Regions from separate parts of the Homo sapiens genome. Here all the other regions are linked to region 1. Evidence: promoter capture Hi-C in 16 types of primary human blood cells and fetal thymus (Javierre and others, 2016). All regions are on one chromosome and are shown on one strand. The core of a region is centred on a gene start or on the middle of the fragment in contact, and the rest is flanking DNA. Distances in the headings are between cores, read along the strand shown.

Evidence for each region. The method cuts DNA at HindIII sites, captures the fragments that hold promoters and counts their contacts. A CHiCAGO score of 5 or more calls a contact.
Region 2: a contact is called between a fragment that was not itself captured here and the fragment with the promoter of PFKFB3 in region 1, in 1 of 17 cell types (total CD8 T cells). The highest score is 6.5, in total CD8 T cells.
Region 3: a contact is called between a fragment that was not itself captured here and the fragment with the promoter of PFKFB3 in region 1, in 1 of 17 cell types (non-activated CD4 T cells). The highest score is 5.0, in non-activated CD4 T cells.

The regions. Positions count from the first base shown.
Region 1 is chr10:6,201,045-6,204,519 of GRCh38, reverse strand. PFKFB3 (6-phosphofructo-2-kinase/fructose-2,6-biphosphatase 3) reads right to left here and starts at 1,588. Exons shown (of 15, transcript NM_004566.4): 1 at 1,184-1,588. The coding sequence starts at 1,259. It overlaps PFKFB3-AS1 (PFKFB3 antisense RNA 1), which reads left to right and starts at 1,763. Exons shown (of 2, transcript XR_007062045.1): 1 at 1,763-2,080. RefSeq lists enhancers at 1-119, 1,859-2,363, 2,918-3,434, 3,435-3,475, silencers at 436-515, 746-1,255, 1,376-1,485, 1,536-1,865, 2,896-3,115 and a cis regulatory region at 1,394-1,925. The HindIII fragment of the contact is 24,291 bases long and covers 1-3,475 here.
Region 2 is chr10:6,686,265-6,689,739 of GRCh38, reverse strand. No RefSeq gene overlaps it. Among named protein-coding and RNA genes, the nearest start is that of LINP1, 49 kb to the left of the region's middle. The HindIII fragment of the contact is 151 bases long and covers 1,560-1,710 here.
Region 3 is chr10:6,621,973-6,625,447 of GRCh38, reverse strand. LINC02648 (long intergenic non-protein coding RNA 2648) reads right to left here. Exons shown (of 6, transcript NR_120634.1): 4 at 49-131. Among named protein-coding and RNA genes, the nearest start is that of LINC02648, 5.0 kb to the right of the region's middle. The HindIII fragment of the contact is 742 bases long and covers 1,490-2,231 here.

The DNA of each region.
Region 1 (3,475 bases), core at 339-2,838:
GTGTGGGGAGAGGGGCAGGTCTGGACGAGGCCGGTGATTCAGACCGAGCAGGGCTCCAGGAGAGCTGCCAAGTCCCGCGGGGGCCGTCCTAAGAAACGTAGTAGCCGGGCAACCCTGCCTGCCAGCCGCCTGCGCTCAGGCGCCTTCGGATGACCCGAAGCCACCTCGAGAGTTTGCACCTGGATCCCACGGTCACTACTCAGGCTACGACCTGACCTGGGCAAAACCGCACCAGGCGGCTCCCTGTCCAGCCCATGGGAGCCGGGGCGCATTACCTGGAGAGGCAGCGTCGCCCCTCTGCGCTGCCCACCCGCCCTTTTCCGCGGCGGCGCTCCGCAGCTGAGGTGGAGCTCGAGGTAACCCTCTCCCAAGCGATCGCTGGTGGCGGGGGCGGCGACCGGCGGGGCGGGGCAGGGTACTGCCAGCCAATTCCGAGCACCGGGGGGTGCGTGCGCCCGGGGCGCGTGGAGCAGCGCCAACCGTGCACTCACCAACCCACCGACCCTCCCCAAAGCCGGGGACACAGGCGTGGCTCCAGGTGGCTCTCCTGGCGCCCCCAGCACGGGCGCCCCCATGGCACTGGAGATGCACGGAAGAGAGAGAAGGAGAGAGAAAGAGATAAAAGCAGAAAGAAACAGTGGGAGAGGAAGGAGGTAGAAACAGAGAAAAACAGAGACATATATATCGAAAGAGAAAACAGGACAGAGAAATAGGTTATTAAGTGAAGCGAGGGGATAGGAATGCATAGCAAGGCGGGAGAGGAGATGGAAACATGCAGAGAGAGGAGATCCGGACGGTGAAAAGGGGCGGAGGCGCGAGCGGCCGGGTCCCTGGGCTGCGCTCCGGCGACGGCCGCCCGAGACGGGTGTCGAGGACAGGGATCGCGGAGGATGTGGATCCCCTCCCTGGCCTGCCCAGGCGCGCGCGTCCCTCCGTCTCGGGGTACGCAGCCCGGCCGGGCGCACTCGCCGTTTCCGGGCCGGCGGGGCAGCCACCGGGACAAGGGCCACAGCGCCCCCGCCGCCCGGCCAAGGACGCGCAGCCCGCGCCTCCGCCCCGCCCCGCCGGCGCGACCCGCACGGGCGCGCCCCCCGCAGAGGGGCGTCGGCACAAAGCCGCCCCACACAATGGCCCGGCCCGGCGCAGCCCGCCCTGCAACCCGGCTCCGCGCAGCTGCACTCACATCTGGGCAACGAGGGCCTGTGGTCCACGGGCACCCAGATCTTCTGCACTCGGCTCTGCGTCAGTTCCAACGGCATCTTCGCGGCTGCGCCCGACGGCCCGCCTCCCGGGGCCGAGATCCCGACGCTGGCAGGAGAGCGGCCGCCGACCCCCGGAACAAAGGAGGAGAGGGGGGCGTGCGCCGGCGCGCGGCCGGGCGTTTCCTGCGCTGCCAGGGGAAACGTGCTTTGGGCTAAGTTCCGGACCCTCGCCTGTGCGGGGCTCGACGTGTGCTGCGAGGGTAGCGAGGCTGGGGATGCCCGGCACGGCCGGCTCGTCCGCTCGGAAAGCTCTGGGATGCTCGGGCGCAGTGACAGCCGCGCTCTCGCCACCAGGCCCTGCTGCTCGCCTCCTCTCCGGCTTGGCTGGGATGCCCCGCGCACCGCCGGCTTTTAAAGAGTCCGGGCTGGCCGCAGACGCGTACGTCAGCCTCGGGGCGGGCCGCATTCCTTGGGTCCCAGCCCCCTTCCACGTGGGGAGGAGGGTGGGCGAGCCGGGAAGCAGCCTGCGAGCTCCCCCTGCGGGCCGGCGACGGCGGTGCACCAGCTCCCGCCGCCCTGCCCCGGGCCTGGAGCGCGCCCAGCCCTGCTGAAGGGTCCTGGCTGCTGTTATCCCCTCGTCCCGTTGTCCCCTCGGGACGTCTGGCACAGCTTCCCCGACTAATTCCGGCCCCTCACCTCAACTGTGCTGGCCGGGAGGAGAGCAGAGACGCAGTCCTGCCCAGTGTAGACCGTGGACCCCGCAGCCGAATCCCTTGGGAAGCTGCTTAAAGTGCATCCTACCAATGCAGCTCCTTTAGGGCCATGGAGCCCCAATACTCTGCATTCCTAACACGCGCTGTGGGGCAGGCGCAGTCCAGGTAAGGACATGGGCCAGGCTGCTCCCTGATAATACCCGTGAGCCCATCCCCCGCCACGACCCGGGCGACCCGCGGGGAGGAGGCTTCCCTGATCCTCCCACCTCACCTCGTCCTTGTCCACTTTGCTGAATCCCTTAGAAACCTGGACTTGAACTGAGCCTTGCTCCCCTCCCCTAGCCCAAAGACTGGGAACCTTGAGAGGCCCGCGGTGCTGGGTACGAGGAGGGGGCGGGAAAGCCCCGGGGAGCTGGACTGAAGTGGACTGGGGCTGGGGGCAGCTGGCATCTGGTTTTCACACTCACCATGTACACCATTCAATAAACCTTTATCGCCCCGAGTAGAAGAATGAATAAAACTAGACCCATTTCGATCTGCAATTCATTACCTAAGTCGAGGGAAAACTATTGGGGGCGGCCCCTTATTAGGCAGACTCCTAAAATTCACTCCGTTATCCTGCACACCCTGCAGCTCTGCCTCCCCACTTTTTGGTGCATGCGTGCCCCGTCTCCTTTCCCGGCCCTCGCAGTTTGCACCAGCTCGCGACTTGTGACAGTCGTGCAGTCAGGTCAGAGGCGTGCGGGGAAGATCTGGGTTGCTTTTGGTGGGGAACCGCCGCCCGCGCCGGGACGGATGTAACTTTTGCAAACGAAGCCTCAGTACGGGAGCGCTGCGCCGCCTTGCAGAGAGGTGCACACTTAGCGCTGAGGCTGGGCTGTGATTGGAGGGAAGGCGGCGCTCGCTGAAACCTACACCGCGGCGGAAAAGTCTGCGCAGAGGCTGCCACACGTCGCTCACGTCCCGCATGCTCCACAGGGAGGGCGCCCGCGCCCAGGCGGCGACCGGGGCTGCTCCCGCCCCGCGCGCCCGCCCCACCCGGGCCTCCACTCCTCCCGACCCGCCGCCTGCCGAGGGGCCCCGGAACGCGCAACATCGGCCACCTGGCCTGTGCCCCGCCACCCTCCCCCACGCCTCGACCCCCACTCCCCCTCCCGCCTCGACCCCCACTCCGGCACCCCGCCCCCCGCGCCGCCCTCTCAGAGCCCCTGTTCCCGCGACAGCTTTGCTGACGGTCTGGTTTCCGCGCTCTGGCGGCTGTTCAGAAACCCGATGCGTTGCATTTGGACTTGTTTTCTGCAGTGGGAGCACATGCCAGAGGCGACACCCTAAACGCCCAGGGGAGAGTCCCACTCCACTCCTGAAATAAGAGTGGGCTGACCCGAAGAGGGAAACAGCAGGCAGCGAGCGCCCGCGCCACCGGGACGAGTTCCCGCCCTGGGGTTCGCGGGGGTCGGGGAGGGCTGTAGGCTGCGCGCGGGGAGAGCGGCTGCACCCCTGCAAAGAGCGCCCGCGGTTCCTGGGGAATGACGGTGCACCTGCGCGCCCGCTGCTTGCCCA
Region 2 (3,475 bases), core at 386-2,885, 490 kb before region 1:
GCCACAGAAAGAACCCTCAGGAGAAACCAGCTCTGGCACCTTGATCTTGGACTTCCAGCTTCCAGAACGGCAAGAAATAAATGTCTGCTGTTGGAGCTGCCTGGTCTGTGTGTCTTGTTCTGCCAGTCTCAGCCGACTAAGACAAACTCAATGGTTATCCCAACCACAGTGGCTGAATCGGTACAGAAAATGCACTCAGCACTATGCATCTTCATTAGATTTCCATGGCATTATACTGAGGCGTAGATGATCTATCAAATTAAATGAACCCAGTAAAAACAAGGAGAAATCAGGTGCAAATAAATACTTTATTAAGGACTCCTCCTGTCTACACCAAAGAGTATTTTCTCAGTGTTGTTTTGCACACATTTCAGATGAGGATAAATAGCCTAGGCGCCAGCTTTCATCCCAACTTACTTTAAAAACAAAAATACTGCCAAGAGAACTGTATTACTTATTTCAATGTAATACGGAAATGACTCAGCACAGAGACCGAATCCTACCTGCTGGCTGATTGCTGTGTGTGTGGATACTTATCCAAGGTTCATCTTGCGTTTTTCATCCAAGAAGCTCACGATGGTTAGCAAACATAATCTGATCATCTTCAAAGGTACAACATGAAGAAATAAATCTTTTATATGATCAGCCTGCAGACATGCAACCTCAGGTGCAAGCCTCACCTGTAAGGTATTTCTTTTCTCACTTTTTATTCCAGCTTTATGGACCTGCTCCAGGCTGATGAAGGTTCCCCACTAGCTCTTACCCCTGACCCTGTAAGGCTTTTTCCCGCTGCCCTGGATTCCCACAGCTTCTGGAAGGACCCCCTTCTTGTGGCTCCTGACAACTTGTCCTTGAGGACTCTGTTTCTGTTTTATACTTGGCATTCAGCCAGGGGCCCTTTTATGCCCTTCCTAGCAGTACCTTTTCACAGCTATAGTAGTATTTCTTTTGTGCATTGAAATTGCCCCCTTTACGTGGGTGCACCCTCAGGTCTCCTCTGGAAAGGGCAGCTATGGACTCAGGGTAGGCAAGGAGCTTGGCTGATGGCAGGGGTGTGGTTTGTTCTTGCCCAATCTGAGCCGAGGCCTGAGTCCTCCCTGTGGACAATTTGTCCAGAACCCTGACAAACTGAGGCAGAATAAAATTTAGACAGAGTGTCCAAAGAGATACCAACAGGCCTTGGGAAATAATCATGGCAAATATTAACTGAGCACTTATGTGCCAGACACAGTTTATATGTGCTTTAGACATGACACACGGTATATGAAAAAGGACGTTTGGCGGTGGGGAAGTACCAAGTATCCCCCATTTCAAAGTCCAGACCATCTATTCAGGACTTGGAAGGTGGTGTCTGAGAGCAAGTTTTGTAATGGTTCGCTGATCTGCTGTCTTCCAGAGTGTGTAATAAACCAGATGGAGGCTGCAGAAAGAGTTGGGAGGACAGACCTTGGAGAGCACTGCTGGCATGCTGAGACCATTGCTCAGGGGCTGTATCTTGCCCACCTTAAACACCTGAGAGGGGTTTCAAGGGGACACATTTATCTGTATCCTCTGAAGCTTGGGTGGCACAGGCAATGGGTATGTGAAGCAAGCCTGGGAGATGTAAGGGTGATATCCTGCGCTGAGGTCCAAGGCCGCAAAGTACAAAAAGATGCGGAACTGCATTGGAGAGACCTGCTCCTGGCCAGCCACATGGGGTGACATGAAGCTTGAGTGGCCATGAGCCAGTGGGTCTCTTTGCACTGGACTTTGTCTGGGAAGACTGCCTGTGAAAAAAGGGAGGCAGAAAAGGATGGATCTTCAGAGGCCCAAGGAAGGAGGGGAGCATCGAAGAGGCTCCCTGGCATGTGCAGGAGCTGCTGTAGGGGTGGACCCAGCTTATTGGGCATCTCACAACCCTCCAAAGAGCCCCATGGGACAGCATCTGCATGGACATCTGCAGAGCCAGAGAGTGTCACTGCTAGATTAAGACAATTCCAGCCACTTACTCTCCTCGTCCCCTGTCCCCTACCTGCCCCGAAGGCACCAAGAATGAGAGTAGGAGTGGGGCAGGGAGGGGCTAAGGAAGCAGCAGACACCGCTCCCCAACTCTACCTCAGGCTTCCAGGTCTAAGTGATACTAACAGAAGGAGAAGCTCTAAATGGAACAAGAGCTCTAACTGCATCATTACACTGCACTGGGTGTTTAAACTACTGAACTACGAGGTTCTTGCAACTAAAATGGACCAGAAACTATAAGACCTGCCTGCCGGGACAGAACAAGAACTGACCCAAACTTGGATTGGAAGGTACAGTGGGAGGAAGAAGAGGGTTGGGTTTACGGTTTTACCCCACTGGGTTCACCTCAAATATGATCAAGTAACATAGTCAGTTACTTGATCCTCACAATTTTCTCAAGAGAAAGATGCAGAGCAGGTCCCTGGATGGCCTTGGTGACCCAGCTCTTCCCTCTTTGTCACTGGTAGTTCTCAGAATAACCTTAGAATGTGCTGGGGATGCAACATCCTGAGATGAGGAGGCACTGGCCAAAACAGCCTGGGTTCTGTTTCTATCCTTCCTACAACGCTTTAGCCCAGGAAGCCAAGTTTTCCCTGGAGTATAAAACCCAGGGTGGAGAGCTTTTGCAGTCCATCGGCTGCAGTAAGCAATGTGAGACTGCATCTGCCCTGACAGTTTCCTGAGCCTTGGGGGACTGGTACACCGTGACCCCTAGCTTTCTCCTGTCCCTTGCTGCCTATCCATGAGTCATAAAGCCACTTTGCTTAACTTGTTGTGTGGGGGCTCGCTCTCACCTGTCTTGTGCAAGTGGTAGAAACTGCAGCCCCAGATGCAGAATGCTGCAGTGTTGGAATAGTGTGCACAGTGAGCCAGCTTTACAATAGGTGTAATAGCTGATGATATTTTACTCAAGAGAAGGCTGAGGCTCAGAAATATTCAGCACAACAACCTCTTAGACCATATGGCTAGTGGGAGGTAGCATCAAGATCCACAACCAGGTAGTTCATCCCCACAGCCACATCCTTAACCACTGTATTATAGCAACCTACCAAATTGTGTAGAAGGAACATTTAAAGCCAGAGCATTTAGGCTAAAGTCCTGGCTTCAGCCATAAGTAGCAGTTTAACTAGGGGAAATTAACTAAAGCTCAAGTATGATCATCAATAAAATAGGGCTAAAAACATCTTCCACGTCTACTTCTTAGAACTTTACTAAGATTTAAATTACATAATTCTTATGAAAATACAGATTACAGATTGCTTTAAAAAAAAAAAAAAAGTAGACGACCGGGTGCGGTGGCTCACGCCTGTAATCCCAGCACTTTGGGAGGCCGAGGCAGGCAGATCACGAGGTCAGGAGATTGAGACCAGCCTGGCTAACACGGTGAAACACCGTCTCTACTAAAAATACAAAAAAAATTAGCCGGGAGTGGTGGTGGGCCCCTGCAGTCCCAGCTACTCGGGAGGCTGAGGCAGGA
Region 3 (3,475 bases), core at 611-3,110, 420 kb before region 1:
CTTAGACATTACAACTCCCCAAAGCCTTTTGAAGGAAAAGAGTTTTACCTCTTTGCTTCCCTAGCAAAATAGATGGATTCTTCCAACTCCAGGAAAACCTCAGGAGATTTAGCTCAATGGGATTTAGTCATCTGAAAGTAAACCCATAAGCCAGACATAAGGGATGTGAAAGACTTTTGAGTAATTTTTAAATTACAAAATTTGCTACATTATACATTGGTATAGGTATTTATTCACAACCACAAAGTTGTCACCTATAAAAACAATTTCAAGTTACGTCTCTAAGCCATAGCCAGCTACTTTTTCAAGGTATTGGTACATGGAAGATTTCAGCAGTTCTTCTAAGTACAAAGTAATGAGACAGAGTAGCCCACCTGTTACTCAGCCCACCCTGACTAATGTATTTTTCTATACATGTCTGCTGACCGCCAGAGCTTGCAGCACCCGCCAGCTGGCGCCACCCCCACTGATCAGATCTTGCAAACTGCGTGAAGAAGCTAACATCAGGAGCATTCCACTATAAATCTTACTCAAGGGAGTTAACCCTGTCACCTGCATGTGCACAAGACCATGAGAATGACCAATCCGGACCCTTGCCTCATTATAATACTAAAATCCCTGCCCGATGAGAGGCTTATCTGCCATGTGATATATGAAAAAGTATGTCTCTACACTGCCCTTGCATGGCTGAAATTCCTTCCAAATCATGTTTACATACCTTTTATTTAACGTTGACCCCTTTTCTTCCCCCAAATAAAAGATCCCAAGCAGCTCTTCCCAGGGAGCCAGCCAGGGAATCCTTCATCCTGTGCTGTCTCCCTTGTGCTCAAGCATAAGCCCTCAATAAAGCCTTGTCTGGGAAACTTGCTTGGCTTTGTGTCAATTTCTATTGCGTGGGAGCTTAAGAACCTGTGGTCCATAACAATAACAGGTCTTACTTTAACTCTGTGTTCTACAAACACAAACCACAATGAAGAGGGCTGGGAAGGAGTAGGGACTTGGAAGTCATTCTTAAAGAACATGGTGCCAATGCTGGACGCTAGTTAAAGTTGATGAGAACAGATTTTATTCAGTCTATTGCAAAGGGAAGTGTCCAGCATAAACTGAGTTCATCTTTTGTTCTGTGCACAGGTGACTGGGTGTTTCAAGGAAAGAATCAGAAAGTAGGAGTAGGGATGGAACATAGGCTCAGTGGAGTCAGGGAAGCAGAAACTTAAAAAAGCGGGAAGGAGGTGGTTGGTTTACGTGATTAGTCCATCTGTGTTTGTTAACTGGCGATTATCCAGTTAGGCTTCTGTCCTCCCATGGAGACTAGAAGGCAGGTGCCCTATCTTCAGGGGTTGGCTGGAACAAAAAGTAAATCATTCTGGCAGCCTTGAGTTTTCCCAGGCAGGAACTTAAGGAGCCTGGAGTCCTCATCCCAGGAGTGCATCCTTGAGCTATTAGGAACCGTGCTGTGACAGTGCTGACTCCTTGTTAGAGAAAAGCTTGCTTGAATGCAATTATTGCTTCGCTTGAGTTTGTGCATTATTTACTAATAACAGCTACAGGAAAACAAGATCTTCAACAGAGATAAAAGAAAATTTGCCAACCAACAGCTCTAAGAATGGGCTGACGAACCTGTAGAAGCTCACGAAACACTGATGAAGAAAGCAATGATTAACTGGCTGCCTATTGTGCACATTTCACAGAAATGTTTTGGTCATCATTTCCCCTAATTTCCCTTAAACCCCCCCTGGATCAAGATCCAGAAGCAAAGCTCCGAGAGGTGGTCTCTGAGTGCTAGTTCACTCCCTCCTCTGGTTTGCCGGCTTCTTGAATGAAGCGAACTTTCTTTTCACCAAAGCTCTCTTGAGTTTTTGGCTTTCAAGCAATGAGTAGCCCAGATCTGAGTTCGGTTACAATGATAGTGTTTGTTTGTGTCTCTTAGTGTGGGAATGGGTAGAAAAAATTGTCTGTGCTGAGAGTCAGCCATCCTCATGGGCCAAGGTTAAGGCCTAGTTGAGAAGATGGCTCAGAGGAGCCTTAGCTTAATCAAGAAGAGAGTCTTTGTCAGCGGGCATGTAACCAAGTATCCCCATTTATTAAGACAAAGAGAACGCGTTATTTTTTCATTATTATTTTCTTCTTTTCTCTTTTCTCCTTTTCCCATCTCCCCACTTCCTACTTAGCTCTTTAGAAATGCAATTATAACATTCTGCCTTCTCCAGATGTTCTTTACAAGGCAAGCTTATCTAACTGTATACTTACTTAGAGGCTCCAGAGCAGAAACCTCTCCCCAAGGAGATGCCTCAAGAAACAACAGTCAATTTACAACCCAAAGTATTCCCGGCATGAAACTCTCTCCCACCTGGAGCATATCTTGAGACAAGTCTGCTTTGCAACCTGGTTCTGCCTGTGATGGTGCCGGCTTGAGCAGTAGATAAAGCACCGAGGCAAGTCCCATGGACCCCCAGCTGCTCACTCCCTCCCCCGCATGCCGCTCATGCCAGGCCCCCTTTTAAAAGTGCCCACTTTCTCCTCCAAAATTGAAGCAGTACCCTTAAGGCAGGAAGCCTGGACTTCTTCCCGTAAGCTAGCTTTAGAATAAAATGTCACTTTCTTTATACCAGACCTTGCTCTTGTTGATTGGACTCTGCAGGTGGTGATCAAGTGAACCTGTGATTCGGTTACAGGGAGATTGACCAAGCAGCTCCGGAGCTCAGTTTCTCCCAAAAAGTATCGTATGTAGCTTCTCCCAACGTGGTGATGAGGTTACTCGTGGACACGTAAGTAGACATAGTAGTTATCTCCACACCTTCCATGCTACCCTCCCTCTACGTGTAGCACCCATGAAATTTGAGTGTCAGAGAAGGGCAGGGTGGAGAGACACATCAAAGACTAAAACCAGGACTCTGATTCAAGAGCTAGGCCTGCTCTGCCTCTAGCCGCTAGATCTCCCTTTTTGTTTAAGACAGTCTGAGTTTGCTTTTTGGTTACTTACAACTGAAACCATCCAAACTGAAATATAAATTTTAATATAATCTTTTGGGGTAAATAAGAGAACAAATCAAACATAATCAGAGGACAAACTCTTCATTTATTGTCAAGGGAACTGCAGCTGGAAAGAATAAATACAGAATGGTTTTGCAGTTTAATAGTTTGGTGCTTCATCCATAGAAGGGATAAATTTCCAAACCTATGATTCTATTTGGAAAGATGGTGGCTAAGTCGGGCCCAGTAGTGATCTCAGACACCATCCTTTGTATGCAATGTGGTTGTTCATCTGGGCACCGTTTATTATCCCCAGCAGTAATGGGTTGCTCTAAGCATATGTTAAAATATAGTTAGTGAATAATGACCCCTTTTAAATTCATGTACCTACATAATGTCAATTTATTTGAATACTTGGCTTAAAAACCATTGTATTGAACTAGGCATGGGCACATTGACATGCTACTGCCTTTTATAACCCTGGTCTCTCTACAAGCTCATC